Regions from separate parts of the Homo sapiens genome. Here all the other regions are linked to region 1. Evidence: promoter capture Hi-C in human tissues and cell types (Jung and others, 2019). All regions are on one chromosome and are shown on one strand. Each heading gives the region's core, a stretch centred on a gene start or on the middle of the fragment in contact. The rest is flanking DNA. Distances are from core to core; before and after follow the strand shown. Region 1 holds the start of TTLL11 (tubulin tyrosine ligase like 11). Region 2 has its middle 33 kb from the start of PTGS1. Region 3 overlaps MRRF (mitochondrial ribosome recycling factor). Region 4 overlaps RBM18 (RNA binding motif protein 18).

What was found. Contacts are between HindIII fragments. The study calls those that stand out against the background at their distance.
Region 2: a contact is called between a fragment that was not itself captured here and the fragment with the promoter of TTLL11 in region 1, in 1 of the 25 tissues and cell types used here (lymphoblastoid cells).
Region 3: a contact is called between a fragment that was not itself captured here and the fragment with the promoter of TTLL11 in region 1, in 2 of the 25 tissues and cell types used here (bladder and thymus).
Region 4: a contact is called between a fragment that was not itself captured here and the fragment with the promoter of TTLL11 in region 1, in 3 of the 25 tissues and cell types used here (pancreas, spleen and thymus).

What each region holds. Positions count from the first base shown.
Region 1 is chr9:122,089,259-122,096,407 of GRCh38, forward strand. It overlaps TTLL11 (tubulin tyrosine ligase like 11), which reads right to left and starts at 4,050. Exons shown (of 9, transcript NM_001139442.2): 1 at 3,429-4,050. The coding sequence starts at 3,890. LOC124902263 (a long non-coding RNA gene) reads left to right here and starts at 4,874. Exons shown (of 2, transcript XR_007061757.1): 1 at 4,874-4,914; 2 at 5,916-6,142. It overlaps LOC124902262 (a long non-coding RNA gene), which reads left to right. Exons shown (of 3, transcript XR_007061755.1): 3 at 1,779-2,021. RefSeq lists enhancers at 3,578-4,291, 4,041-4,230 and a silencer at 3,641-3,690. The HindIII fragment of the contact is 16,076 bases long and covers 1-7,149 here.
Region 2 is chr9:122,334,743-122,341,891 of GRCh38, forward strand. No RefSeq gene overlaps it. Among named protein-coding and RNA genes, the nearest start is that of PTGS1, 33 kb to the right of the region's middle. RefSeq lists enhancers at 1,728-2,333, 2,334-2,937. The HindIII fragment of the contact is 6,762 bases long and covers 1-6,289 here.
Region 3 is chr9:122,292,035-122,299,183 of GRCh38, forward strand. All of the region lies in intron 5 of MRRF (mitochondrial ribosome recycling factor), which reads left to right. Among named protein-coding and RNA genes, the nearest start is that of MRRF, 31 kb to the left of the region's middle. The HindIII fragment of the contact is 5,171 bases long and covers 594-5,764 here.
Region 4 is chr9:122,232,997-122,240,145 of GRCh38, forward strand. It overlaps RBM18 (RNA binding motif protein 18), which reads right to left. Exons shown (of 6, transcript NM_033117.4): 6 at 4,626-7,149. Among named protein-coding and RNA genes, the nearest start is that of LHX6, 7.6 kb to the left of the region's middle. RefSeq lists a silencer at 4,340-4,540. The HindIII fragment of the contact is 6,020 bases long and covers 1-5,743 here.

The DNA.
Region 1 (7,149 bases), core at 2,800-5,299:
CCCACAGCAACACAGCATGGGCTGCAAGAGATACTGTTGCTCACACCCTTGCACCACAGCCCCCAGTAGAAGTTCTTGCTCCTAAAACAGCGCTGGGAGTTCAAGATGATCTCATCCAATATCACCTCATAACAGATGGGGAAAGGCAGGCATAAGAAAGGTCATGTGTTTGCACTTTGTTAGTACCAGGGATATATATATATGTTAGTTTTCATGCAGTCAACTTTGTAGGAGGTACTAAGAATACTATAATCATAGTTTAAAGCAGGAAGGAACTTTAAAGTTTAGCTACTCTGGCACTTTTCAACCTCCACACTAGGGTGTCAAGATGTGATGTAAGCTCTCTTGCAAATATTCCATAATTCATTTGATGAATATTTATTGAGCACCTAGAATATGCTGTGCATTAGGGACATAAGTCAGATACCACCCCTGCCCTCAGGACTTCATGCAGTAATGAGGAAGGGTGACAGTAATAATCACAAGCCTAATAGTAGAGTCTTATTGTTGCAAGTGAATTGTTTTTTTAATTTTCAATATTTTTTTTAGAGACAGGGTCTTGCTCTGTCACCCAGGCTGGTGTGCAGTGGCACAATCATAGCTCACTGCATCCTTGAACTCCTGGACTCAAGTGATCCTCCCACCTCAGCCTCCCAAGTAGGTGGAATTACAGGCATGAGCCACCACATTCAGTGAATTATGTTTTAAAATATACTAGAATAAACATCTCCACCTATATGCCAATGTGTTCTCTGAGTGGGAAAAAAAGGGCAGGGTTGGAGGTGGAAGAAGCAGTTACAGGTAGTGCCTTGGAAAAAGCCTACCCACTGGGGGTGACCAGTGCAACAGTCTCATGTAGATCAACATTACCATTATGCGGCTACCGAAGTAGAGAGTAGATCAACATTACCATTATGCGGCTACCGAAGTAGAAAGACTGGAAACTGCTGAATTAGCTCTGTCCACCCCTACTTTACAGATAAGCAAACTGAGGCCTCAAGGGTTTAACTGACTTGCCCTGATAAATGGAAGAACATCAAAATTCTGTTAATGGCTCACATAGCCTTCCTCCCCAAAACAGGTCCAAATCCCATCGCATGGCACATGATCTGATCCCTGCTCATTTCTGAAGCCCCATCTCTTACCACTCCACCTCCCACGCTATGATCCGGCCATACTCAAAGTCCTGAAAGGGCCTCTGCTTTGCCCACACCACTCCTGCAACCAGGGATCCAAAGTCCATGACCCTAAATAACTCCAGTTCATTTTCAGCACTCACAACTCAGCTCGGGTTTATTTCCTCCAGGAAGTCCTTCCTGGGTGCCCCTCCTCTACCTCCCGCAGCATTTCTCCTTTCACACAGAAACACTCATCACATAATGTATTCATTCATTCAACGAATATTTATTGAGCAACTTCTGTGTGCCAAGTACCTGCGGGTACAGCAATAAACAAAACAAAGCCCCTGCCCTCATGGAGCTTACATTCTAGTGAGGGAAACGACAATAAACAAGCAATACATAATATAATGCCTGGCGAAGTTTAGTACTATGGAAAAAAAATAAATACCAAGGGCTGGAGATTGATGGGGAAGGTATCATCTAAAGAAGTGACAAGAGTAAGCCATGCAAATAAATGAAAAGGGAGAATTTCAGGATGCAGCAGCAATGTAATGACCTGTAATGACCGCAATTATTCCTTTACTTGTGTTTTATTCCCTATTGAACCATGAAGTCCTTGGGGGCAAGGGTCACATCTTAAGTATGTTTGGTTCCCAGGGCCCAGCAAAGAACTTGGCACCTCCAAAGTGGACATTTACGGAATGAGTGAACGAACCTGGGCTGGGATGTATTAGTCCATCTGGCCCCATCTCTCCGAGCAAACGAGATCTGGCCTGCTTTATGTCTCTCTCTCCCACAGGGATAAGCTAAGTGGAGGCCCCACTTGGGCCAATCTGCCTAGCCTGACTCCATAGCCTGGTTTTATTTGCTGGATTCTCCCTTCATTAAGACCACGGCACTGACAAGTTGTCCAGTTGTACCTTTTCTAGCCCTCATATCTCTGGCCTGGACCTGGGGCCCTGCCTAGAAACCCAGATACTTTAGAACTGAGAGCCTGCCTTTGTTTTCCCCAAGTTTCCCCAGCATGAAAGTTCCCCTCTGAATCCCAAGCCCCAAGGCTGGGGGCCCAGACACTTGGAGTCAAACTTCCCCAACGGCTACACCCTATCCACCTGGAAGTCGGTTCTGCCTGATCCTTGACTTCCCTCCAAACCAAATGCACTTTTTCCTATTGGGACATCAACCCTCTGACCACATCAGTCCTTTCTGTGGCCATCTCTCTGTATGTTCCAACTTAATGAAACCATTACCGAGCATCTACCATAGCCAAGGCACAGGGCTAAGAACCTGAGTCCTCTGTTACCCGCAGCAGATCCCTGTTACCACTGGCTGTGTCCACACTCAGCTATCCTTAATCAAACTCCTGACACTCCTGAAAGCACATTAAATACCTTATATGCTGCAAATAAAGTCAAATGGCTTTATCCACGTAGCCAATTGCAACAGACACCTCTAGAGTCACTGGTGCTACATTCCATCCCCTGCCAGTCTAAAATGGGCTCAGGGATGATAACTCATGTATTCATTCACCCTTTCATTCACTGCTTACTGACACATGCCGTAAGCCAAGCCTGGAATATAAAATACAGTGCCTGATTTTATACCACTGATCATGAGGACAGTGGTGGTGCTGGTGGTGGTGATGGTGATGATGGTGGAAGAAGAGAGAAAGGAGAAGGTGGTAACGTAAGTTACCATTTATTGCAGACTTGTGCTATAAAACACTAAGTAGTGAGTCTTCTAATGCTAACAAGATGATGAGATAAGTATAATTGGCCTCACTTTACAGAGAAGGTAATAGGCTGAAGAGGTGAAGCAACTTACTCAAGGTCACACAGCTAAGTAGCAAAGTGTAGTGAGACCCTAGGCCTGTCTGCCTCCAAAATAAAAAGTGTTCCTCTGCCCAAGAGTCACACAGCAAGTGCTAAACAAATATAACTTCAATGAAGAAGTGAGAGAGCGGGTCCGGGGCCCCAGGGGCTTACAAGCTGGTGGAGGAGACAGACGTACACATATCTACAAGCAGAGGCAAATGCTGATGGCTGAGACATAAAAAGAGCTGCAGGGAGGCAGAGGAGTGAGTGGCTAACTTGACCTGGAGGGGTCTGGGGGGCCCTCTTGGAGGAAGTGATTTTGGGGGGTAGGCCTTGAAGGATGAGCACTTTGCGGCTGACAAGCAGGCCCGAGCGTGGTGCACCGCAGGAGCTCAGCCCTCGCCCGCCGACCTGACCTGGGCCGTGCCGAGACCTCTGAGGTCGTCCTGTCCACCCCACTGTGCCCACGCGGCCGGGTCGGGCCGGGCCTCACCTCCTTCCACTTGAGCTGGCGGATGCTGATCTTCAGGGCATCCAGGGAGGTCCTGGCCTTGGAGCTGTCCACGGTGACCGGCCGCTGGGAGCCGTTCTCGCCGGAACCGTGGCCCGAGCTCCGCTTGCAGCTTCGGCCCTTGTCCCGGGGCTTCCCGTGCGGGCAGAGGCCCTGCACCGGCTTCGGCTTGGACGGGGGCAGCGTGGGCGGCGGCCGCTGAAGGACCTGGGTGTTCCCCTCCTCAGCCGCACTGGGCTGCGCCGGGGCCGGGGCCAGGACCTTGGGCTGCTCCTCCCCTGCCTTGCACTCCGGTTCCCCGGCCGCGCCCGCGTCCACGCGGACCTGTTCCGCCACCGTCTCCGCTGTGGCCTCGGCCTCAGCTTTGGCCGCCGCTTTGGCCGCAGCCACCGCCTCCGCCTCCCACCGGGCCGCCAGCTCGCTCTCGGAGCTGCCCCGCCGCATGGTGCTCAGGGCCGGGGCCAGTGCCAGTGCCACCGCCGCCGCCGCCGCCGCTCCGCCGCCCCAGTCCGCCACCAAACTGCCGCCGCTGCAGCCGCTGCCACGCGTTCCCCGCCCGAGCCCGTTGCCATGATCGCTCAGGCTCGGGTTGACAGCGGCAGTCACCGCATCGAGACGGGGTCCGGGAAGGGACAATCGCCGGCCGAGCCCCAGCGACCTCATAGGCGAGGCTGCCCACGTGACCCTGCCTGTCACAGAGGCAGCGGCGGCCATGTTGGAAGAGGGCAAAGAGCCGCCAGGACCCGCCCACCCCGCGGATGCGCTGGATCTCGAGGGCGCAGAACTCGGAGTGGCGAGGAGAAGCGGGAGGGCAGATTGAGCGCGCGTGGGGCTCGTGAGCCTGGGGACTGGGAGTAAAAACAACTACCTCAAGCAGGAGGCTCAGTCCCCGCCAACACTCGCTGGGATAACTCTCGATAGGACGGAGGAGGAGCCCCCCAGTGGGACCCTCCTCAGTGCAATGGATGGGACCCTCCTCAGTGCAATGGATGGGACCCTCCTCAGTGCGATGGATGTGAGCAGCCCAGGCCCTAGGGGAGCAGAGAGTGTTCCGCTGAAGAAACCCTCTGCTGGTCCTTTGAGCGCCCCCAGATAAGAGGGGAGGCACTTTTCCCTGTTCTCAGGGAGCTCCCGATGGGATGGGGAAGTCATGGGCATGGGTAAGCCCCCTATAGATTCCCACTCGAGTTGAGGATATTAACGATTTTTTCTTTTTCTTTTCTTTTTTTCTTTTTTTTTTTTTTTTTTAGACAGGGTCTCTCTCTGTCGCCCAGGCTGGAGTGCAGTGGCGCGATCCCGGCTCACTGCAGCAGCCTCAACTTCCAGAGCTCAAGGGATCCTCCCACCCCAACCTCCCGAGTAGCTGAGACTACACGAATGTACCACCACTCCCGGCTAAGTTTTGTGTTTCTCGTAGAAACGTGGTTTCGCCATGTTGCCGAGGCTGTTCTCAAACTCCTGACCTCAGGTAATCTGCCAGCCTCGGCCTCCCAAAGTACTAGGATTACAAGCAGAACCACCGCGTCTCTTGTTTTCTTTTTTGTTTTTGTTTTTGTTTTGTTGTTGTTGTTGATGTTGTTACAGAGTTTCGCTCTTGTCGCCCAGGCTGGGATGCAATGGTGTGATCTCGGCTCATTGCAGCCTCCGCCTCCCGGCTTCAAGCAATTCTCCTGCCTCAGCCTTGTGAGTAGCTGGGATTGCAGGAGCCGGCCACCATGCCCGGCTAATTTTTTGTATTTTTAGTATAGACGGGGTTTCACCATCTTGGCCAGGCTGGTCTCTAACTCCCGACCTCAGATGATCCACCCGCCTCAGCCTCCCAAAGTGCTGAGATTACAAGCGTGAGCCACCACGTCCAGCCTGACTGCTTTTACTTATATCACTTTTTTTGTTGTGGTAAAATATAACAAAATTTGCCATTTTAACCATTTTTAGTGTACAATTCAGTGGCATTCTGTATACTCACATTGTTGTGCAACCAGCACCACTATGGGTCTCCGGAACTCTTTTATCTTACCAAACTGAAACTTTGTGTCTATGAAACAATAAGTCGGGATTCCCTTCTCTCCTAGTCCCTGGGAACCACCATTTCTACTTTCTGACTATGAATTTGACTATTCCTGGTTCCTCATGTCAGTGGAATCATACAGTATTTGTCTGGCTTATTTCACGTAGCATAATGTCCTCAAGGTTTCTCCATGTTGTAGCATGAGTCCAAATTTCACTCATTTTTAAGACTGAAAAATATTTCGTCGTGTGCATACACCACCTCGTTTTTATCCATTCATCTGTCAATGGACTTAGGTTGTTTCCACCTTTTGGCTATTGTGAAGAATGTCGGTTAACATTGGTATACAAATACCTGTTTGAGCCCCTGCTTTCCATTTTTGGGAGTTGCCATCATTTTAAAGCCAAACCAAGGAGAAAGCTCTCCCCTCCCACCTGAGGGAGCCGCATTTGTTTTTTTAGGAAGTGGGGTTGAGAAGGTGTAACAGCACCCCAGACTGACCACAGCGGCCACGACTGCACACAGGGGAACTTTGCCTCGCTCGACACTACAGGGTGAAAGAAACACAGAAGTTGTCAAGGAACGTGGCCCCTCTTCCTCTCTCATCTCTCCAGGTGTCTTGTTTCTTTGCTTTAGTCCAGGGGTTTCACTTGCTGAATAAACTGCCTTGAAATGTCCAAGTCATAAACTTAAGAGATCCAAACCTCCTTTTTAGCAGCAGAGGGCGCTCGCATCTGTTCCCTTCATGACTTTGTTTCAGAGTTTCTGTAAGCATGGTCGTCTGGCCACTTGCATGGGAACAACCCGGGGTGTTTATTTAAAATGCAGGCTCCTGGACCCCACCCCCAGAGACTGTGATGCAGCACATCTGGGTGGACCTGGGAATCTGCATGTTAAATTAGCTCCTCCGCTGATTCTAAGGCAGCGGAGGCAAGAACCACTCATAGAGTCTGATGCAAGTCCTCTGGAAATTCTTGGAGCTGTCCGTGGTATCAGTAAGAAGGCCTCACTGTCCCCCCATTTCTCTCCACAAACCTACCCCCCAAATCCTGTCCCTCCTCCTGGTGTCCTTGATCTCAGCAAGTGGCACTACCTTCATTCAGTCATCCATGCTTGAAATTTGCCGAGATCGCGCCACTGCACTCCAGCCTGGGCGACAGAGTGAGACTCGGTCTCAAAAAAAAAAAAAAAAAAAAAAAAAAAACATATATATATATATATATATATATATATATATATATATATATATATATAAAAACTGGGCATGATGGCATATGCCTGTAATCCCAGCTACTCGGGAGGCTGAGGCACAAAACTCATGAACCCAGGAGGCAGAGGCTGCAGTGAACTGAGATCGCGCCACTGCACGCCTAGGGCAACAGAGCGAGACTCATTCGAGAGAGAAAAAGAGAGAGAGAGAGAGAGATCTCCTCTTTCCTCTCTTATCTATCTCTATCATCACCACCCCAATTCAGGCTTCTGCTGATAGCTCACCTCCAGCTCTGCCACACACCCACCCATTCTCCACACCAGACCTGCCACTCTCCTGCTTAGAAACCTCCCCTGGTTTGTCACCATCTACAGATAAAGTCCAAGAACATTGATTGTCCTAAGAGGCCCTTCCTGATTACAATTTCTGAAATCAACCCCTCTCCCTGCCTCCATGCCTTTGTAAACATTGTTCCTTCTGTCTGG
Region 2 (7,149 bases), core at 1,659-4,158, 240 kb after region 1:
ATAGCTCTTCCCACTTCTAGACAGCTCCATGTTTTACAAGTGGGATACTGAAGCACAGAGAGGGGAAGAACTCATCCACTGACGACACAGTCAGTGAATAGCAGAGCTGGGACTTGAACCCAGATTTCCTGATTTCCTCCCTGCTCCTTTGGCTGCCCAGTGGAGTCTAACAGACTGCAGGTCAGACCGCACTTTGGGATTTTTAAGCTGCCGGGGTTTGAGATGTCTTTAAGCCTTCATGGGGCAAAAAATTGCAGGGTTTGGGGAGCAGAGAAGGGTCTTAGAGATAATCTAGTTTGGCGCCCTCTTTGTAGTGATGAGGAATTTAAGGCCTAAACAGGGCAAATGACTCACAAGAACACTTTGATGTCAGAAAGTCCATGCCAAAATAAGCAGCCTCATGATCCACAGAGTCCGTTGGAGTCTCAGAACTGACTGACTACAGCTTTAGAACCTGTGTTAATAATAGGTAACTTGGTATCAAAACCCAGAGCAGATTGGAAACTATAAATTACAATGTGGAGAAGGGCAGCTTTCACACAGAGATGTCTGTTGAATGAGGAATACACAAATGAATGAATGAATGAATGGACTGCCAGGCTGATTTCTGGCTTCTACCTCACTTCCCTTCCTCTCCTCTATCTCTTGCCGTCAGATTAATAACCTTAAAACACAGCCTAGGTAGGGCGCGGTGGCTCATGTCTGTAATCCCAGCACTTTGGGAGGCCGAGGCGGGCCGATCACCCGAGGTCAGGAGTTTGAGACCGGCCTGACCAACATGGAGAAACCCCATCTCTTCTAAAAATACAAAATTAGCTGCACCTGGTGGCCCATGCCTGTAATCCCAGCTACTCAGGAGGCTGAGGCAGGAGAATCACTTGAACCCGGGAGGCAGAGGTAGCGGTGAGCTGAGATTGTGTCATTGCACTCCAGCCTGGCAACAAGCGAAAACTCTGTCTCAAAAAACAAAACAAACAATAACAACAACAACAAAAACACAGCCTTTGCTATAACATCCTGCTCAAAAACATTCAGTGGCTCCCCCTTACCTGGATGACTGAATAGCCTCCTAACCAGTCTCTCTGTTCTTCATGCCTGGCCCTCTGATCCGTTTTCTCCAGAGGGTAAATTCTTCAAACGCAAATCAGGCCACTAGCCTTCAGAGGCTCCCTATGACCTCCAGGAAAAAATCCAAAATTCTTAACCCAAGGTCTTAACTGCAAGGCTTGACCATCTCTCTGACCCCATCTCACCCCAGCCTCTCCTTGCTCTGGCGTCTCTCAGCTCCCCACCGGTGGCTGTCACTTCAGGGACTTTGCACGTGGTGTTCCCTCTGCCTGGGACATTCCAGGCCCTACTGGCCTTGCTAACTTCTATATGTCCGTTAGCTCTCAACCCAATGTCACTCCCTCCGGGCAGCCTTCCCTGACCTCCCCAGATTGGGTTTAGCAGCTCTGAGAGCCTCTGGTCTGCCCCCAGCACCGCACTATCCCATCTGATTATATGTAACGACTTTCGCATCTGTCTCCTGCCCCAACTGTGAGCTCTGAGAAGGCAAGAACTGTCTCATTCACACTGCACGCTCAGTCCCCAGGATGAAGCCTGACACACACTGTACACTCAACAAGTATTTGCTGAATGCACAAATAAATACATGTGGCTTCCTAGTGAAACTGATGTAGCCATTCAACAAATATTTAAGCATCTTGGTAGATACTTGTTGAGCACCTACTAAGTGCCAGGCATGGTTCTCCACACTCCACAGGGTAAACAAACCATCACAAAGTCCCTGCCTTTGTGGAGCTCACGGTCTACTTGGGAGAGGCAGGCATTAAATCCATAGAGAAATAACTTAGTGCCAGGCATAGCTGAGTGCTGTGAAGGAAAACAAAGCAGGAGTTAAAGAATTGGGAGGGTGGTGGTGAGGGGGTGGGGGTTGTCAGTTTAGATGGGGCAGTCAGGGAATGCCTCACAGAGGAGGTGACATTTCAGTGATGAGCGAGGGCTTCTGCGAGACACAGACCCTCCCCTGCCTGGGGCTGTCTGGGCCACAGGTGTGTCCAGGTATGGCAGGCCCAGGTCCCCAAACTCTTCCTGCCTCTCGGTTGGAGCAAGGAACCCAGAAGAGGCCTTAGGTGAGGCTTTTGAGGCCGGTGCAGAAGCCTCAAGCTGCTCTTCACAACAGCTGTGATTGGGCTCTTTCTGCATGGCGAGAGGCAGAGATTGCTTTGTGCGCCGAGGGCTCGGCTGATTGTGGTGGGTGCCGGGCGATTGGCACCCACAGACCGCGGCCGCCAGGGTTTACCACGCACCCCCAGCACCGCGGCGGGCCGTGCGCAACGCGCCAGCCCAATCTCGCCTCCTATATTCAGAGTTGATTAGACGCTATTTCTGCCTGGATTTTCAGAAGGCTCAAGAGCTTTTTTAATCACTACAGTGGCTCATTACGGTTTTGCAGTGACACTCATGTCCTTCAGTTCTCTTCTCAGATTAGATTCTATAGTCAGATGAATATTGGATGATTTCATTACATACAAATGCAATCAACAGTTTTGCATAAATTTCTTCTCTTTTCTTGAGTTTCAATTGACCCCAGCACCCATGGTGGCAGGCGCGATCCACATGCAAATGAGCTGGGTTTGCAGCCGAGGAGAGGGGCCGGGAGGAGGCGGGCACTTGCACCAGCCCAGGGAGGCAGCAGCCTTGATTGCTCAGGCTTTGGGAGAGGGGCCTTGGAGGAGGGGGCACCCTGCAGTGGGCAGCCTCTGTGGCCAAGGCTGGGCACCCCATTCAGGATAGTGTTCTCCAGGTGAACTGAAGCACAGGGATGCTCCGAGTAGGACAGGCTCTCTCTCTGGGCAGAGACTGGAATGTGAAGTTAAGGCCCTGGCAGCTGGGCTGGCAGGGGAGGGTGTGCTCAAGATGCTTGGAGCAGTGGCTATTTAACAACTGGTGTGGACATGTTTCAATCTTTTAACAACTGGTGGGGCTATAGCAGTGCATTCCTGCTGTGTATTTGCTGCTGCTGTTATGATCATAATCACTGTCATTACTCCCTCTGGAGGGCTTAAGCTGTGGCCGTGTGGGCAACCAGTAAGAGACAAAAGCCAGCCCGAGGCAGGTGGGAAATTTTGGAGCCTGAGGCAGTTGTCTCCGGCATCATTTTCTGGATTTCTCTATTGCTTTATTGGGTGGAGGGCCAGGATATTCTCAGAATTGGGCCTCAGAAGTCTCCTAATCCATCCCTTATCTGATGCTTGAATCCTCTCTACGACACCTCTGTCCAGTGGTTTGGCAACTTCTCCTCCCTGGGAATGAGAAACTCCTTCCCTGCAAGGACCCTCTTCCGCCTCCCACAGTTCCATAGCGAGAAGGTGCTTTCTATGACTCCTGAAGCCACCCTCCCCAGCCCTGACTGTGCGCTCTGGGCCCAGCCCACCTCTGCTCCTTTGCCCCGTTGTAGCCCCTGAGGTCAGCAGCTGGTGACTGTGCTCTCCTGGGTCACCTTCCTAGGGCTGGTCTTCTCGATTCCTGCAGCTTCCATTCCCAGAAGCCATCCTCCAGCCTCCTATCCTGGTCTGTCCTCCAAATGCTTCTGGTGGCTGTCACGATTCATAGTCCGGGCCTGGACTCAACACTAGGCACAAGGCTGGAGGGAGGTGTGGGGAGGAAGAGGACCCAGGGCTAACAGCTGAGCATCCCACACGCTAAGCATTAGAGCCAAGACGACGGTCTGCACTTTGCAAACCTCACTTCCTTTGGGCAGCTTCTTTATAAAACCTTCAAACGTAAACACAGACCTGACAGGATGCAGAGAGAGACATGTGGATGCACAAAAATTCAGGGACCCAAGCTACTGCCATCATGGACACAAGGGAACCTGGAAGTGGCTGGGGTCATAGCCAGCCATGGTCAGGAACGAGACACGCCTGTGCAGCCACCGCTCCGGGCTCAGGTTCTTTCCTGTCACTGCCCTCGGCTCCCTAGACGGGGCTTGTAGAGATGCAGGAATCTGAATTGAAGCAGAGGGCTCCTGTGTGGCTGGTGGGACTACTGAAGTCTGGAGAGGGGAGGTCTGGGTAAAAAGTCACACAGCATTGAAGTGAGAGTCTCCTGATGCAGGCTGGGGGCCACTTTCTTGTTCCTCTGGCTGCCCCTGGGGACCATTCCCTCATCATTCTGTCCTGTGTGCAGTCAGGAAGATGTCTTCTTTCCTGGTTGAATGGACGCCCCCACTCATCCAGTCATTGCCCATGCCTATACCTCTGCTTCTGCTTTCGCTCAGCTTCCCTAGGCTCTTTCTGCTTGCATCTCTGTGTACATTTCTCTCCTGTTTCCCTGTCTCCATCTCCCTGTATGTCTCCTTGTCCCTTCCTCCCCCATCCCTTCCCTTGCCTCCCTGTCCATCTCCTCATCTCCCTGGGTCTGGTTGTCTGTTCCCTTTGCCAGGCCACATCTGCTCCTTTGCTGTCAGGTCACGTGTTGCCCAGAGCTGGCCTCTGTCTGGGATTGGCAGAGTTGAGATCCCCAGGACTGCTTCCTTTAGAGCTGTGGCCCTGGAAGGAGGAGGTTGGGGAGCGGCTCATTTCTGAACTCTTTGGAGCCTTCCTACAGTGACCTGCACTGGGTCATCTGTCCTTCCCTCCCAGGACGAGGGAAGGACGGCTGGGAAGCAGCCAGCTCTCTTTCATCACAGACCTATTCTCACTCAGGCTGGAAGAGGGGGCTGGAGTTGGGTGGGGAGGGTTCAAGAGGACTCCCACTGACTCTTCAAGCCGACTGGGATCATCCTAGACAAACCTGCTGCTGTCTGCGGCCAGCTGCCCCCAAAGAAGCTCCCTTCCTGCCTCCCCTCCCCCAGGTTCTCCTGGCAGAATGAATCTACCTTGCCTCACCTTTCCCTACTCCCCTCTCTCCCACCCAGGCACAAAGGGCTGCCTTCCCCTACCACGCCTGCTTTCCAACCTGCGCACCTGCAGGATGGAGAGGAAATAGCTGAGCTCTGGAGACTGATAGGACCACGACAAATCCCAGCTCTGCCACGTGCTAGCTGTGTCATCTCGGGCAAGTGACTGAACCTCTCTGAGCCCAGTTTCTTCCTCTATAAAATGCAGACAATACTCCTTCCCCTGCAAGGCTGTCAAGAAGATTATCTTATGTGAAAGTAGCTAGTAGAGAGCTGGGCACAAAGTAGACTTAATAAAACATTTGTTATGAATAAATGAATGAGTAAATATGAGTGAATCATAGAATTGAGACATGCATAAATGGGGCATGGAGAAGGAGTGCCAGGTGTCCAGAATGGTACAGGCAGAGGCAGGAGGTAAGAAACCCTGGAGAGGGGACAGGGAACCATGAGCACGTGAAGTACAAATGCAGAGTCAGGGGTCCCAAAAGAAAGTCTCAGGACATGAGGCAGAAGTGGCAAGGGCCACATCCTGGCAGTGTGAAGAGCCAGGCTCAGAGGCTTTTTTCCTTTTTCTTTTTAAAATTGAGCATCCCTCGTAGCAGCAAAAGGAATGATCAGAACTTACTGAGAGTCAACAATGAACCGGGCAGCTAAAAGTGATTAAGGCAGCAGCTTCCGTGAGTAGAGGCCTCGTGCTGGGGCATCTGACAAGCATTGCCTCATTTAATCTTCACAGCAGCCGCTGAGGGAGATGCTATTACTATTGTTTTCGCTTTACAGTTCAGGAAATTGAGATCTAGAGAAGTAAAGTGATTTTCCTGAATCACACTGCTAATAATGATCCCAGCTAGGATTTGAATCCTGGTCTATTCTGGCTCCAGAGCTTGTGCTCAGTCCCTTGGCACCACTTGACCTTCCGAAGGGAGGACCCCCACATCCCTGGGCAGGTGAGGCCATGTGAGTGAAATGGCTTAAACACACTTTGAGTTAATGAAGGGGAGTACAGAAGGCATAAGCAGAGTGCCTGAGTATGAGGAAGATGGAAGCTTGGCTTGGGGGAATCAGGGCAGGCTTTCTGGAGGGCGCTGGACACAGAGGCAGAGGGGCAGCCCAGGAGTGAGGCTGAGGCAGGCCTGGTGGGGATGGAGGTGGGGTGGGGGCTGTCACCCAGGGCCTGGAGTACAGTAGCTGTGCTGCCTGCAGCCTGGGGCTGGGGTTCTTGACCAAGATCTGCTTTTGACTGGGGTCTACTTCCGTAGCCCCACCAGGCCCAGCTTGTGCCTCATCTGCTGGTCCCCAGAAAAGCAAGAAGATCAGGATTCTGGTGACTCCAGACCTGGGCCCCATTCCCAGTTCTGCTACCCTATCATCTCTTTTTTTTTTTTTTTTTGAGACAGAGTCTTGCTCTGTCACCCAGGCTGGAGTGCAGTGGCATGCTCTCCGCTCACTGCAACCTCCGCCCCCCACCTCCCAACCCGGGTTCAAGGGATTCTCCTGCCTCAGCCTCTGGAGTAGCTGGGATTACAGGCACACACCACCACACCTGGCTAATTTTTGTATTTTTAGAAGGATGGGGTTTCACCATGTTGGCCAGACTGGTCTCGAACTCCTGACCTCAAGTGTTCTGCCCACCTCAGCCTCCCAAAGTGCTGGGATTACAGGTGTGAGCCACCACGCCTGGCCTGCTACCCACTTGCTGCAGAACTTTGGCCAAGCTTATGCCCCTTTCTGATCCTTGCTTTCCCCACCTCCAAAATGGGGGTAGAAATGCCCACAGCTGGGTGCAGCTGACAGTCAAGGGCCAGCAGGGTCCGTACAGGGCCAGGTTCAGAGCAAGTGCTGAGCAGTGCTGGCTCCTTCTCCCATCCCCAGGGGCCCCTGAAACTCTGGGCCAGGCCTGGACGCCAACAGAGAGGGTGTGTGCTGCAGACTCCAAAGCCAATACAGTCTGGATCTATATTGTCTGAATCTGTACTGCTGTGTGGTCTGGAGTAGGGTACTTAACCCACTCTATGACAGTTTCCTCATCTGTAACATAAAGATTCTAAGTCCAGAGTCCCTTCTCTAAAACCTGTAAAGTTAGATGAGTTTCAGAGTTCTTCTTATTCTAAAGTCTAACGCAAAACGTATCCTGTGTGCTGCGTGACCTCCCAGTGGGATCTAGGGCATTTCTTATAATTAAATTCATGTTTTTTCCCAAAAACATATAAATATTCGTATCAGGTAGTGAAATGAAGACC
Region 3 (7,149 bases), core at 1,929-4,428, 200 kb after region 1:
GTTTGCAGCAGTAAGCTTGAGAATTTGTTGTCCTTACATAGTTTACATTCTGGTTGGGAAGGTAGGACAAATAAATAAAGTCATTCCAGATAATGAAATGCTATGAGGAAAGAAAAGACAGTGGGATCCAATAGAGAGTGACTTGGTAAGGATGATGGTGGCAGGGGCACCTGTAGCCTGAGAAGACTCTTTATGCAGGTAACATTTTTGCTAAGAGCTAAATGATGAGAAAGAACCAGCCTAGGGGAGAGCATTTTGGGCAGCGTGAACAGCAAGCAGAAAGGCCTCCAGTTTGAAAAGACCTTGACACTGGTAGTCTCTAACTTATATTCTTTGAAGAGCTATTTTTTTTACATTAGTCCTTGCTAGTCGAAGAATTTTAAGCTGAGAACAGAATATTGTTAATTATATAAATATATAGAACTTAAAGTTTTAAGTGAATAAAAATGTTCATTTTTAAATTTAAAAAAAGAAGAGAAAATATAAGACCTTGACCTTTTTGAGAAAGAAAAAAGCCAGTGTGTGTGAAATGCAGGGAGAGGGTGGTAGGAGAGGAGGTTGGACTAGTCAGTAGAGGCTGATGGTTTAGGCATTATAAGTCATGGTGAGTGGGCTTTATTCTCACTGTGATGGGAAGTCAGTGGAAGGATTTAAGCAGGGGAATGACCTGATCTGATGTTGACTATGTGAGGGTCTCTCTGACTGCTGGTTTAACAAATGGACTATAGGGGTACAAAGTGGACACAAGGGGAACAGTCAGGAGGCACCTGCAGCAGTCCAGGTGAGACACATCTTCTCCGATTCCACAGCAAAAGATTTAAATCCCTATTCCTACACAGTGCCTCATATATAGCAAGGCCCAAATAAGTGTTGAATTAACTCGTTCAGTCTTTCAACAAATATTTATTAAGTACTAATGACATGCCAGATACTTTCTTAGTTGTTGGAATATAGCAGTAAACAAAACAAACAACAAAAAGTCCCTCTCTTCCTCGGGCTTCCCTGATAGTTGCATAGGCACAGTAAATAAGTACGTAATGGAATGTCAAGTGATAGTAAGGACAATGAAGAAAAACAAGCAAAGTAAGGGGATAGGGAGATTTGGGGCTTTTATTATGGATAGGGAGGGTCATGAAGAAAGGGACATTTGAACAAAGACCTAATGAACAAAGCTTCCAGATAACTAAAAGGGAAATGGAGTTGAACACTAGTTGAGTGTCTTTTAGTGCCACACATTATCCTGTATTCCTTTACATATATTACCTCATTTGTCTAATCCCTGTAAAGTAGGTTTTTTCCTAGTTGTGGAAATTTAGGCTCATGTCTTTGAAGCCACACAGCTTGTGCTGAAGCTGGGACCCAAACCCAGGTTTAGTTGATAACAAAGCCTCATGATGTACCCATACCCATGCAGACAACAAGAATCAATCCCAACACGGGAGTCCAGAAACTTTCCACACTGAACTTTTTCCTGCCTCGTGGCCAGAAAATAGCTGTCTTGTTCCATTGTGTTCTCAGTACTCTGTGAGGCTGAAGTAACACTCTGCTTTGAAATCATGTGAATTGGGAACAATATAACCTAACGTTTAAGAAGCAGATAGACCTAGGTTCAAGTCTTTCTGCTTGAACCAGATAGTTCAAGTTTGTTTGGCAAGTTCATTGATTTGCTTAGTGAATGTTCTGAGAATGCGTATGTGCCAGGCTCTGTGCTGGGGATGTATAGACGTGATGTATGCCTTCATGGAGCTCACAGGCTGTGTGCCAGGCCTCTTGTTTGTATTGCCTCCAACTTACTTGTGGAAATTACTAGGGCCCACATTTATAGATGAAAAATGTGAAGTTCAGAGAAATTAAGGGACTTGCCCGAGATCACATGACCAGTAAATGGCAGTCAGGATTTGAAGCCTGAGTTTTTCTGTTACCTTTCTCCTGCATTTTCTGTGTAGATGCATAATTCTGGAAAGTGCTAAATGTACACATGGACGTTAGAAGCAAGATTTACAAGAGTAATAGATAGTAGTCAGCAGGCTTATTTTCTAGTTTTTGCTGTCCTGTTTGTGAAACCTTGGACAGTCACTTAACCTCCCTGAGCCTTGGCTTCCTCACATGTCAGATGAAGGGGTTGTTCTTAGTGGCCTGCCAGGTCGTTTCTGAAGCTCCAAAATACTGTGGGGCTATGAATTTGTGCTACTAAATGCTCATTGCTGATTTGGATTCTTCTTAGGGTGACTCAGTTGTGTATCACATTTTTCTTTCAAAGATCTGGTTGACATAACATGCATTTCTGCAGCCCCGCAAGAGTAAATGATCACTGTCGGTGCATTGTATGTAAGTTTGAAAGATCAGTGAGTTTAACTCGAATTTCCAAAGATAAGAGGATCTGTTACATTATTTTTTACATTATTTTATTTTGGTTAATGGGTGTAATCCAAGAGAAAGTTGATGGACCAAAACCGTCTGCTCCTGCAAACCTCATTTTTTTATATACTTTCTTCCCTTTGACAAGGTGGTGGGGTCATGAGGCCCCTTACTGAATTATAACGTTTGGTAGTTTTCCAGATAAAAAATGAATGATCTGTTCTTTATTATAGAGGCTGTGTTACGTGAGAGGATAAAGGTTGATTTATAAGTAAGAGGATCGAGGTTTTTATTTGGTTTTAGCAGTGACTTCCATATGACTCTGGGCACAGCGCCCTAGTTGCTTGCTGCCTTCTAGTTCCTTATTTGTAAAATAGGTTAGTGCATAATGATAAGCAGAGATGTGGTGAGATTAATAGAGAAAATAAATTAAGTGGTATGATTTCCTTAAACTATATAAACATAAGATATTACTTCAGTAAACTTTTAATTTTCTACATATTATATAATTTTAGGAGAAAAGGATGGAGGGAAGAAGGGAACTAATAGGTCGAGCACCTACTATGTGCCAGGAATGGTTAGGTGCCTTACATATTCAGGAAAGCAGAAAAGTATAATGGTTAAATTTTGCGTTGGTGTCACGTAAGCATGAAATTGAGTTCCAACATTTCCTGCTTTTTAGCTGTGTGACAGTGGCACCTGTCTCTGCCTCTGTGAATCTCAGGCAGCTCATCTGTGAAATGATAATTTACAGGACTTGCCATATATGCTTATTGGGAGATTTCAGTGAGATAATGTACATGAAGCTTTTGATGCTTAGTAAGCACCCAATTAATGCTAGCAAATATGCTATTTCCATCATCCCCTTTCACAAATAGGAGCATCATTCCTTTTTAGGGATGAAGAAAATGAGATTCAGAGAGGTGAGGCATTGGTTCTGGGTCACACAGCTGGTAATTGACAAAGCGGTGAGGAGGAAAATAACACATCATATCTTAAGTTGGGACTTTGAGGGGTAGGGGAAATAGGAAGCATACATTCTTAAGATCAGTTTCCTTTTTTTTTTTTTTTGAGATGGAGTCTTACTGTGTAGCCCAGGCTGGAGTGCAGTGGTGCGATCCCAGCTCACTGCAGCCTGCGCCTCCCAGGTTCAAGCAATTCTCCTGCCTCAGCCTCCCAGGTAGCTGGGATTACAGGCGCCCGCCACCACGTCTGGCTAATTTTTGTATTTTTAGTAGAGACGGGATTTCACCATGTTAGCCAGGCTGGTCTCGAACTCTTGACCTCAAGTGATCTGCCCACTTCGGCCACCCAAAGTGCTGGGATTACAGTTGTAAGCCACTGCGCCTGGCCCCTTAGATCAGTTTCTGATTATAAAAGTTTGAGTTTAGTTCTAGGAAAATTTGCCTCCTCTGATTGATCCTGATTCTTCCACTGCCTAATGATAGTCTATAGGTTTGCTTTTTTGCCTTAACTCTGGATACCCAGAACTAAATTTTATTTTCAATTGAAGCAGATCTCACCTATTACCTCACCCTCATTACATTCCTCTGATTCTTATATTCTTATTTAAATGAGTCTACTGAGTATGTGACTCTTAACTATAATCTGCCTCTGATCTTTTGGGGAAGTAGGTAAAAGATAAATCCTAAATCAGTAACAGGCCAGGCTTGGAGCCTGAGTGGTCCTTATCATCAAGACCTCTTTTTACAGCCTCTGAGACTCAGCTCTGCGTGGCTGTTTGCGAGTTTTTTTTTTATCGTGGCTGTCTCCTCAGGTAAATAACCATTGAGTCTTAGGGGCTCTGGATTATATCTTTTCCCACTGACAATGTGGATAGCTTTTGTTTGCTTCTCTGGCAGTGATTTTTATTTAGATAAGTTAGTCAACTGGATTGGTTTTTTTGGGACATTCCTGTTAATGGAGATATACTGAAATAGTTTCTTCTATTTTTCCAATTCATGTAATTACATTTTAGGTACCATTTATCAACCACCTAAACTAGAGGTATAATGCCTGGAAGTGTTGAGCTGAACACTTTACAATTTCTCCCCAAATTCTTACAACACTATGTGGTGAAGAGACTATTTTAGGCTCATTTGACTGATGAGAGTCCTGAAGCTCATAGAAGTTGATGCCCAATATCAGATAGCTAGTAAGTGGCAGAAGCAGGGTTAGAATTGGGGTCTTTGTCACTGCCTTTCTTCCTGTTCCTGTCTCCTGATAGAAGATTTATCTGGAATATCAGTCTTTTCACTCCTTAATCAGGGGCCCTGAAAAGTTTTGATCAGGGGTTCATTTTGTTCAGGCCAGGTTTCTGCCTCCACCTTATTCACATCATCATTATGCCCCCAAGCAAATAAACAAATAAGAATACACTCCCTTACTCATTGTTTTACCAAATGTCTATGGGAAAACCACACTAAGTAGAATAGTGGTGCTTTGGTTTGAGATTGCTGAGTTCATGCCTGGCTTTAAATAATGCTATAAGGAAACTATGAATTCACCCAGGAAACAAAACTACAGATGATTGACTCATTCCTCACCAAGTTTGCATCTTTCCTTGATTGTCTTCCGATTCCTTCATCAGCGTCTCTGTTGGTTTTATTTTAAATAAAATTACATAAAATATTTAAATGAGGCTAAGCACAGTGGCTTACACCTGTAATCCCAGCACTTTGGGAGGCCGAGGCAGGCAGATCACAAGGTCAGAAGTTCAAGACCAGCCTGACCAACATGATGAAACCCCATCTCTACTAAAAATACAAAAATTAGCTGGGCATGGTGGCGTGCGCCTGTAATCCCAGCTACTCAGGAAGCTGAGGTGAATCGCTTGAACCCGGGAGGTGGAGGTTGCAGTGAGCCGAGATCGTGCCATTGCACCCCAACCTGGGCGACCAAGTGAGACTCCATCTCAAAAAAAAAGAGAAAATGCCTCCATCCTTTTCTCCTTAGGGAACCACTTTTAGTACCTTGATTTTCTAGATTTTTTCCAATGCAAAGTCAAGCATATGTCTGGTATCTCCTTCATTTTTCTTGTAATGATATGGGATTATACTATACATAGTGTTCTGTACCTAAAAAAAAAAACTTAACAGTGTGCCATTGCTCTCTGTTATGAGAATTCTTCCTCACTCTTTTTCTAAAGGTGTACTATTGGCATTTTACACTTACATTAACCAGTTCCCAAGTGTCAAGTATCTTAGTTTAAATTTTTTCTCTTTTGCTAACCATGTCTCAATGATTTTCTAAGGCCTACTTCCTGTTCTGCTGGGAGTGGGAAGTGGTGGCATGGGGACCGTAATTGGGAAAGAAGTGAATGCAGAATGTGGGGGATGCTGTGGCTCTTGCCCTTGATTGAGTGCTTGTTTGCAACATCACTGCATAGTACTGCGCTTCTTAGAGACATGGACATTTCAGGGCCAGAAAACCATCTGCAACACACCCAAGTGACCCCTCTGTTGGTACTTAGACCCAAACTTGATGTGGTTCTTTTAGGAAACCCGATTGGTATTTTAATGCCTCCCCTGGCTCACTGTACGGCAATAATAATATTAAGGAAAGTGACTGTTTACTGAGTGCATACTGTATTCTAGGCTCTATACTCTATGATTGAACTCACTCTGTTCCCTATTTTTTATACATGAGCAAAGTCAGCCCGAGTTGTTAGGTAACTTGCTTGGGTTCATTTAGCTAGTAAAGGTAGAGTTGAGCAGGATTCAAACTTGGGTCTGTTTTACTTGTAAGTCTGTATTCTTGCATCCATGGACTTCTGAGAGTACTTTCTGTTTTTGTTTTGTGTTTGCTTCTTCGTTTTTGTAGCAAAGGACAGCAATTGGCATTTTTAAGTTTAATTATATAATAACCCAAACTATGTGGAACATAATTTACAAAGCTCAAGTCAGGATGCCTAATCTCACAGTGAACTTGTCTGCCACTTTTTGGTTCAAGAGGCAGTCTGGAATACAGGGTATTTATTTATTTTTACTCAACTTTATCAAGGTATAACTTATATGCAATAAAATGAATCAATTTCAAGTATATGTGATGATGGCTTTTGACAGATATATGTGTCCCTGTGACTACTACCCCAATCAACACAGAGTAGTTCAGTCACCCCAAAAAGTTATCCTCTGCCCCTTTGCATGTCGGTCTTCAATCCTCTTCCTCTGGTCCCGGACAACCACTTGTCTGCTTTTATGAGGATATAGAGTTTTTATGCTGAAATGTAAAACTTCTAGGACATTCGTAAATTTACTCAACAGACATTTATTGAATACCTATTATATGCCAAGCATAGTGTTAGACACTGATGATAAAGTAGTGAATAAGCCAGACAAAACCTTTGCCCTTAATGGAACATTTACTGGGGAGATGGTTAACAACACACACATATAGTTTGTATGTGTCGGATGGTCATATTTTTCTCTCTGTAGAGAAAAATAAGGCAGTAAAAGGAAATAAAGCATGCTGTGAAGGTGGGGATAGTGGTGGTTCAATATTAAGTAGATGTTCATGAAGTATTCAGAGGAAGGTGATACTTGCAGAGAATTGAGGGATGTACAAGAACAAACCATGCCTATATCCAGCACTGAGGCAGAGGAAGCAAGAAGTGCAAAGGCCCTGAGGTGGGAGTCTACCTGGGATGTTCAAGGAACAGCAAGAGGGCCATGTGCCTGTAGCAGAGTGAGTGAGGAAAGAGAAATAGAAGATGAGGGCCAGGTGCAGTGGCTCATACCTGTAATCCCAGCATTTTGAGAGGCTGACGTGGGTGGATCACTTGAGGTCAAG
Region 4 (7,149 bases), core at 1,484-3,983, 140 kb after region 1:
CCTGCCGGGGAGTAATTCTAGGAAGGTAATGTGAGCTGGGGGAGGCTGGAGACCCAGCTTCACATTTATTTACTTTGACAGCTAAATTGGTGAGCAAGGGGGAAATCAGATGAAAGCCATTTCAGAGTAAATACTAAATACGAAATTTAAACATTCAGATTGTGACAAATGAGAAAGGGACAATGGGAAGAGACACGGCAGCACCCCCCTTCCAAGCCTAGGACCTACCCTCACCCCATCAGCTTCCTAGGTATTTCCTGTTTGAGGAAAGAGCACAGAATGGGGTACAAACTGTATGACCCTAGGCCGGCAATTTACCTCTCCTGGCCTCAGTGTCCTTGTTTGCAAAATGCGCGTGTGAATCAGCGATGTGGAAGTGACGGAGCGAGCCTGGGCGTAAGATAGACCACCAACCCAGCCCAGCCACTTCCTGGCACGCTGAACTTGGAAAAGTCACTTATCTGAAACACATTTTTCTTAATATCAATATCTGGGAACAATATCAATCTCAGAGGAGTCAATAAGATAATCAGTGTGAAAGGGATTTGAGAAGCACAAAACTCCGGGGCCAGATGGCCTTAATGTCAACCTTGTCACTTCCCTTTATTACTTGGGTAATCCTGGAAAAGTTCTTCAGTCACTCATCAGCCTCAGTTTCCTCATCTGTTAAGTGAGGATAACCGAGTTCAACTCCTATGGTTGTGAAAATTACGCAAATGATCCATGTGACAGGACTCAGAAATATGCCTGGCACACAGTAGTCAATCAATAAACATTAGCCGTCATTGTGGCACGGGCTCTCTGAATTTTCTGTTTGTTATTCTACTAGGTACCACATCAAATTCTTTATGAAGGCAGGGGACAAATCAAAGCTTCAAAGTATATGGCAAAGCAATATTGCATACCTCAAAGCATATTGCAAATGTGAACAATTATAGTTACTGGAAGTCCCCTTCCAGGAAGCTCTGACATTCGCTAAGTAAGTTCAGGTCAGCAGACATTTGTGAAGCATTTACTCCATACCAGGTTCCACACTAGGCCCAGGAAATAGAGGAAGCTGTCCTTGTCCCTGCCCTTGAGGAGCCCACAGTCTCTTAAGAGAGAAGAAAGCCAGCAACTCAGTGCAGTGTGACAGGTGCTACAAAGGGTGCTATAGAAGCAAGGAGGAGGGTCACTTAACCTGGCTTATGGGTGGTGGATCAGGAAGGCTTCCTAGAGGAGGTGACGTTTCAGATAAGTCCTGAAGGATGAGTAAGTACAGACAGGCAAGAGCAGAAAGGAGTTGGACCAGGATAAAGAGTGGCGGCCCAGTTAGTGTTTGCTGGGGCAACAAAGGGAGATGAGGCTAGGGAAGTAGACAGGAGCCAGATTGTGGGGAGCTGAGTGTTGACGAGGTTAGATTCATCTTGGAAGCTGGAGTCTACAAGCCTACAGTGACACAGGAAGCAGCATCCTGCAGGAGTTGCACAGCACAGTGGTTAAGGATTCCGGGGTTGGAGCCAGGTGGCCTATATTGATAACCTGACCCTGTTACACACTGGTTGGGGGGCCGAAGGCAAGTCACAAACTCTATGAGCCTTAGTTCCCTCAACCGTAAAATGGGGATTAATAGATAACCCATTGACAAGTGCTGTGATGATACCAGGAGACCATGATGCATCTACGAGTTAAGTTCTTGGCCACCAAGAGACATTGTTATCACTGTTACCACTAAGAAGATGAGGTAATGGTCACACAGAAGGCACTAGCTAAGTGGGGATCCTCAAGGTGCTAGATGTTCCCTCCTCAGAGAATTCTACCCTGACCACATGATTGAAAATAAATCTCCCGTATTAATCTTTTTCCAGCAGAGGGTAGATACAGCTTACACATAGCCTCACAAATAGTCTTCTATAGAATGCCAAGGAATTTCAACTTCAAAATAGGAACTATGAGGGGCTTGTCAGCATGGAGATGACATGGTGAAGTTGGAGATTTGGAAAGATGACTTAAGTAGTTGGTTTGAAGATAGATTTGAAGGGGTAAGTACTTAATTGATTGCAGCAATACTGAACGTTTATTAACTAGTAATCTAAGGGAGAAGGAATGAGGCAGCTGCAGGAACAAGGAGGATGAACAGAAATAAAATAATTAAAAGTTTATTATTTTACTTTATTATGTTGTATATCATCATATACATATCTACAACACATCCAGTTTTCTAATCATCTTTTTTTTTTTTTTCCTTGAGGCAGAGTCTCGTTCTGTCGCCCAGGCTGGAGTGCAGTAGCACCATCTCGGCTCACTGCAACCTCTACCTCCTGGGTTCAAGTGATTCTTATGCCTCAGCCTCCTGAGTAGCTGGATTACTGGCACGTGCCTCCATGTCCAGCTAATTTTTTGCTTTTGCTTTTGTTTATTTGAGACAGAGTTTTGCTCTTCTCGCCCAGGCTGGAGTGCAATGGCGTAATCTCGGCTCACCGCAACTTCCACCTCCTGGGTTCAAGCGATTCTCCTGCCTCAGCCTCCCAAGTAGCTGGGATTGCAGGCATGTGCCACCACGCCCAGCTAATTTTGTATTTTTAGTAGAGATGGGGTTTCTCCATGTTGGTCAGGCTGGTCTCCAACTCCTGACCTCAGGTGATTCGCCTGCCTTGGCCTCCCAAAGTGCTGAGATTACAGGCATGAGCCACCGTGCCCAGCCAATTTTTTGTATTTTTAGTAGAGACGTGGTTTCACTATTTTGCCAGGCTGGTCTCAAACTCCTGGCGTGAAGTGATCTGCCTGCCTTGGCCAAAGTGCTGGGATTACAGGCGTGAGCCACCACGTCTAACCAACTTTACATATTAAGGTTATATATAGAATCATATATATGTAGTATATATGGTATAAATACATACAAATGTATCATATATGATATCATCAGCTATATAACATTTAGGAGACTGGATATAGGGAGTGGGGGAGTGGAAAATGTTCAAGATAACTCTCAGGTTTCTAATAGTTTATTTTATTTTTCCCAGTGACACAGAACATGGGAGCAATTGAGGAAGGGCAAGAGGGATCCATGAGCTCGGTTTTGAGTCAATGTACCAAGGGAATATTCAAGTGGAAGTGCCCAGGAGTGAACGGGACATATGGCTCTGCAGCTCAGAAGAGAGCCTGGATCTAAGAGAAGGAATTTCAGAGATATCAGGGTAGGGATAGCAGCGGAAGCCTTGGAAGTGGAGATTTTACAGCAGCTGGAATTTACCCCATCTATGAGAAGAGAGTTGGCTTGTTTGCTTTCTGGGAGGTAATTTGCCCCTGAAACTCATCTTACTTTTGGTGAGAATCGTTTTTTAAATTATAAAGCACATTATATGTAGTGATAAGTGCTAAAACAGACCCAGGTCGTTAAGACGCAGAAAGGCAATTAACTGCCTTATAGGAATGAGCATGGGTGGGAAAATATCTGTTAGACAAGTGGTGGGGGTGGGCAGAAGGGACTTCCCAGGTAGAAGGCACATCTTGTACAAGGACAGGGGAATCCAGGAGAGTCCATCATGTTTAGGGTGCACAAATAGTTTAGTCTGGTTAGGAGAATGCCTAGTGGGACTGATTTGTAGAAGGCCTCATAAACCTGGCTTATCCTATGGTTCTAGGTATTTGGAAGTATCTTAACTCCTTACTTAGATTAAATCTTAATATCTCTCACTTTGGGGCTTTGTTCTTTGTTCAACGTCCCCCTTAAACCGTTTACGCAGCTTATTAAACATCGTTTGGCCGCTCAGCTCGGGGGGAAATCACCTATGTCACCATGTCCCATTCCCAGCCTGGTTCCCATCCTCTGGTGTCTTGAAGCTGCTGAGTCGTCCCTTTATCACGGTACATCACAGTGCACAGGGCTCCTGCCTCATCATCTTTACACCCTCCACGCATCACACATGGCAAATGCCATCTGTTTCAGGAATGAGTAACCTTCCTTCTGATGAGGTCGCCCACCAGAAAGCTTCTCAAATGGGATAGGCCTGTTTTCAGAAGAGGAACACATAACTTGTTTTTTAAGGTGAAAATTTAAAATTATGCTTCTAGTTTAGAAAAGTCACAGGGCATGTAAAAATTAAATGTCATTCAGCATAATCAGTAATCTTAGCCAAGTTTAAGATTGAATGCAGAGGAAAGAAGACACAGACCTGCGTACTCGGATAAATTCTGACAGATCTGTTTTTTTTGGGTTTTTGTTTTTTTCTTTTTAACCTGGGATTCAAGAGGTCTCTCCAGAGACCACAAGGAAGAGCCTGCTTGAGAATGAAACCAACCCAGAGGAAAACACAATCAAGAGATAGACAGAATCCTAACCATTTCACTGAACACCTGGACTTCTCAGTTACATGAACCAATACATGTTCTACCGCAAGGGAGTTGGAGTAGTGTTTTTGTCACTTGAGCTGGGAGTCCTGACAAATCTGCTTACATAGCTGGGGCTACAAGTCTAAATCTGAAGCCCAAGTTCTTACGGCCTTAGTTTCCTCACAGGGACAATGAGAGGATTTAGCCCACATTGATAGCCTTAAGCAGTACAGTGATGCCACTAGGGCTGGCACAGCCAGTTCTCTATCCCAAAAGATGTGTAAGGGGTCAGAGACATTGACTAAGAAACAATATTCGGTGCACATCATTCTGACATCTGTTGCTTTTATTCTCTGCATTAATACGAGAATTTTAGAAAACACATTTCCAGTCATGGAATATTGTTTAGAGTAGGGTTTGGCAAATTTTTCCTGTAAAGGGACCGATAGTATATATTTCAGGTTTTGTAGGCCACAGTCTTCATTGCCAACTATTCAACTCTTCTATTATATGGGGAAAACAGCCACATGTAAATGCCTGGGCATGGTTGTGTTCTAATAGTTATTAACATACACTGAGATTTGAATTTCGTATCATTTTCATGTCACAATATAGTATATATATTTTGTTTACTTTTTTTCTCAACCACTCGAAAATGAAAAAAAAATCATTCTTAACTTGTAGGCTATACAAAATTAGGAGGCAGAGGCCAGTTTGCTGAACACTGGACTAGATGTTTGCAGGCCTGGGTTCTACCTAAAGCTCTCCCATTAACCAGGTGACCCTGGCCAAATCGCTTTGTCTCTCTGGGTTCCCGTTTTCCCCATCTGGACAATGAGGGGGCTATATGAGATGGTCTCTTAAGGCCCTTTGGCTCTCAAATACCAGAATTCTTGTAGTTTATCCAACAAATATTTATTGAGTATGTATGATGTACAGCCATTGTTTTAAATGCTGAGGGTATAGCAGTGATATACAGTTCCTGCTTACATGAAACTTACATTCCAATAAAAAGAGACAAAAAAAAATTTAGATATAATGTTGGTTAGCGGTAAGTGCTTTTGAGAAAATCGTGAGGAAAGGATTGGAGAGTGACAGGTTGTAATTTTAAGAGGGAGGCCGGGGACTGCCTCTTGATCATTAACATTTGAGCAGAGACATGAGTCAGGTGAGAGAGCGGGCTCTGCGGCTATCTGGAGAAAGAGCGTTCTAAGCTAAGGCAACAGCCAATGTAAATGCCTTGAAGTAGAAGCTCCCTTGTATTCAAAGAATAGCAAGAAGGCCAACGTGGCTGCAGTACACCGCACAAGGGGAGAACAGTAGGCTATAGGGTCAGACACGTAGTGAAGGACAGGTCATTAGGGCCTTACAGATCTTTCAATTTTTTCTAGGCTGTGATGGAAAGCCACAAAGAAGAGAATCACATTTTAAAATAATTTTTTTAAAAATTGCTTTGGCTACTGTGTGGAAAACGGACCCTAAAGAATCAATAGCAGAGGCAGGGAGATAATTAGGAAGGTATTGTAATAGTCCAGGGAAGAGATGATGGTGGCTTTAAGAAAAATGGTGGTAGTGTTGGAGGTGGTGAGATGGCTGGATTCAAGAGGCATTTGGAAGGTAGAGTTGACAGGATTTGTTGAAGAACTAGATAGGAGCTGGAGAGAAAAAGAGAAAACAGGGATAAGCATGCTGGGACTAAATCATATTTTAGGAACAAATGATTACATATAGGAAATGTTTGACATTTAATTTATAAGGCAAGAATTACTCCTGTTCTTTTATGTAGTAGTATAAAAGAATCACAGATATATTTGTTGATTCAGAAACTGTGCATATCTTAATAAACAAGAGACAGAGCTGCAGAATACCTGGTTTCATACAACTTGTGCAACTGATTTTTGACCTGTTTTGTTTTTGTTTTTTTTGAGACGGTGTCTCACTCTGTTGCCCAGGCTGGAGTGCAGTGGCACAATCTCGGCTCACTGGAACCTCTACCTCCTGGGTTCAAGCGATTCTTGTGCCTCAGCTGACATGCTTTGAAAAATCTTTCCTCATGTGATACTCCTCCCCAGTACTAAGATACCAATTATAGAAAATCAACTGGTTAGGATTACATTTTGCATTTGATAAAATAGGAATTGAGATGAAGAAAATAGTTCATACGTCTCTCCTCAGTATTTCCTTCAATTCTTCACTCTTGTATATAAATCAAAATTATAAGTGACATAATTTTAGCAAACCAAAATAACCAGTAAACCAAAGAATAATTTTACTTAAAGTACAGACAACCTCCTAACAAAGAGTTGACCAAGTTAACACCTGAAATTTAAAAACCTTTCATCAGACTGCTTTCAGCATATTTAGGATACATACATTTCTTCTTTTGAAATCTCTACCACGAGAGACTAAACACAGTACGATACTTGCAGAGATTTCCATTAACAACTTCTTTTCAAATAGTGACATTTGCAATGGAAACAGCTGGTCTCTATTCTCATCTCTAACAACAGAGGTAGGCAGGCATAAAGGGTAAAGAGAGTTGCCTCTCAGTTTGACTCTCTAGCCAGAACCCTCTGCAGAGAAGGCACTTAGAAGAAGCACCCCACGTGGACATGCTGGCCAGAGTCCTGAGTGGAAACAAGCCTGTCAGAGAACTGCAGTCTATGCCAGTAAGTGAACGAGAGAAGATATAACCACACGGACACCGTCTTACATTTATTCACACAGAGGGATAAGAATCAGTACAAATAATAAACAGTGCTTTAAATACAAATAAATAGCTCTGGTTTCTAAAGGAAACAACTCTATATATAATTCTAAGTTTTTTCTAAGTTCCTA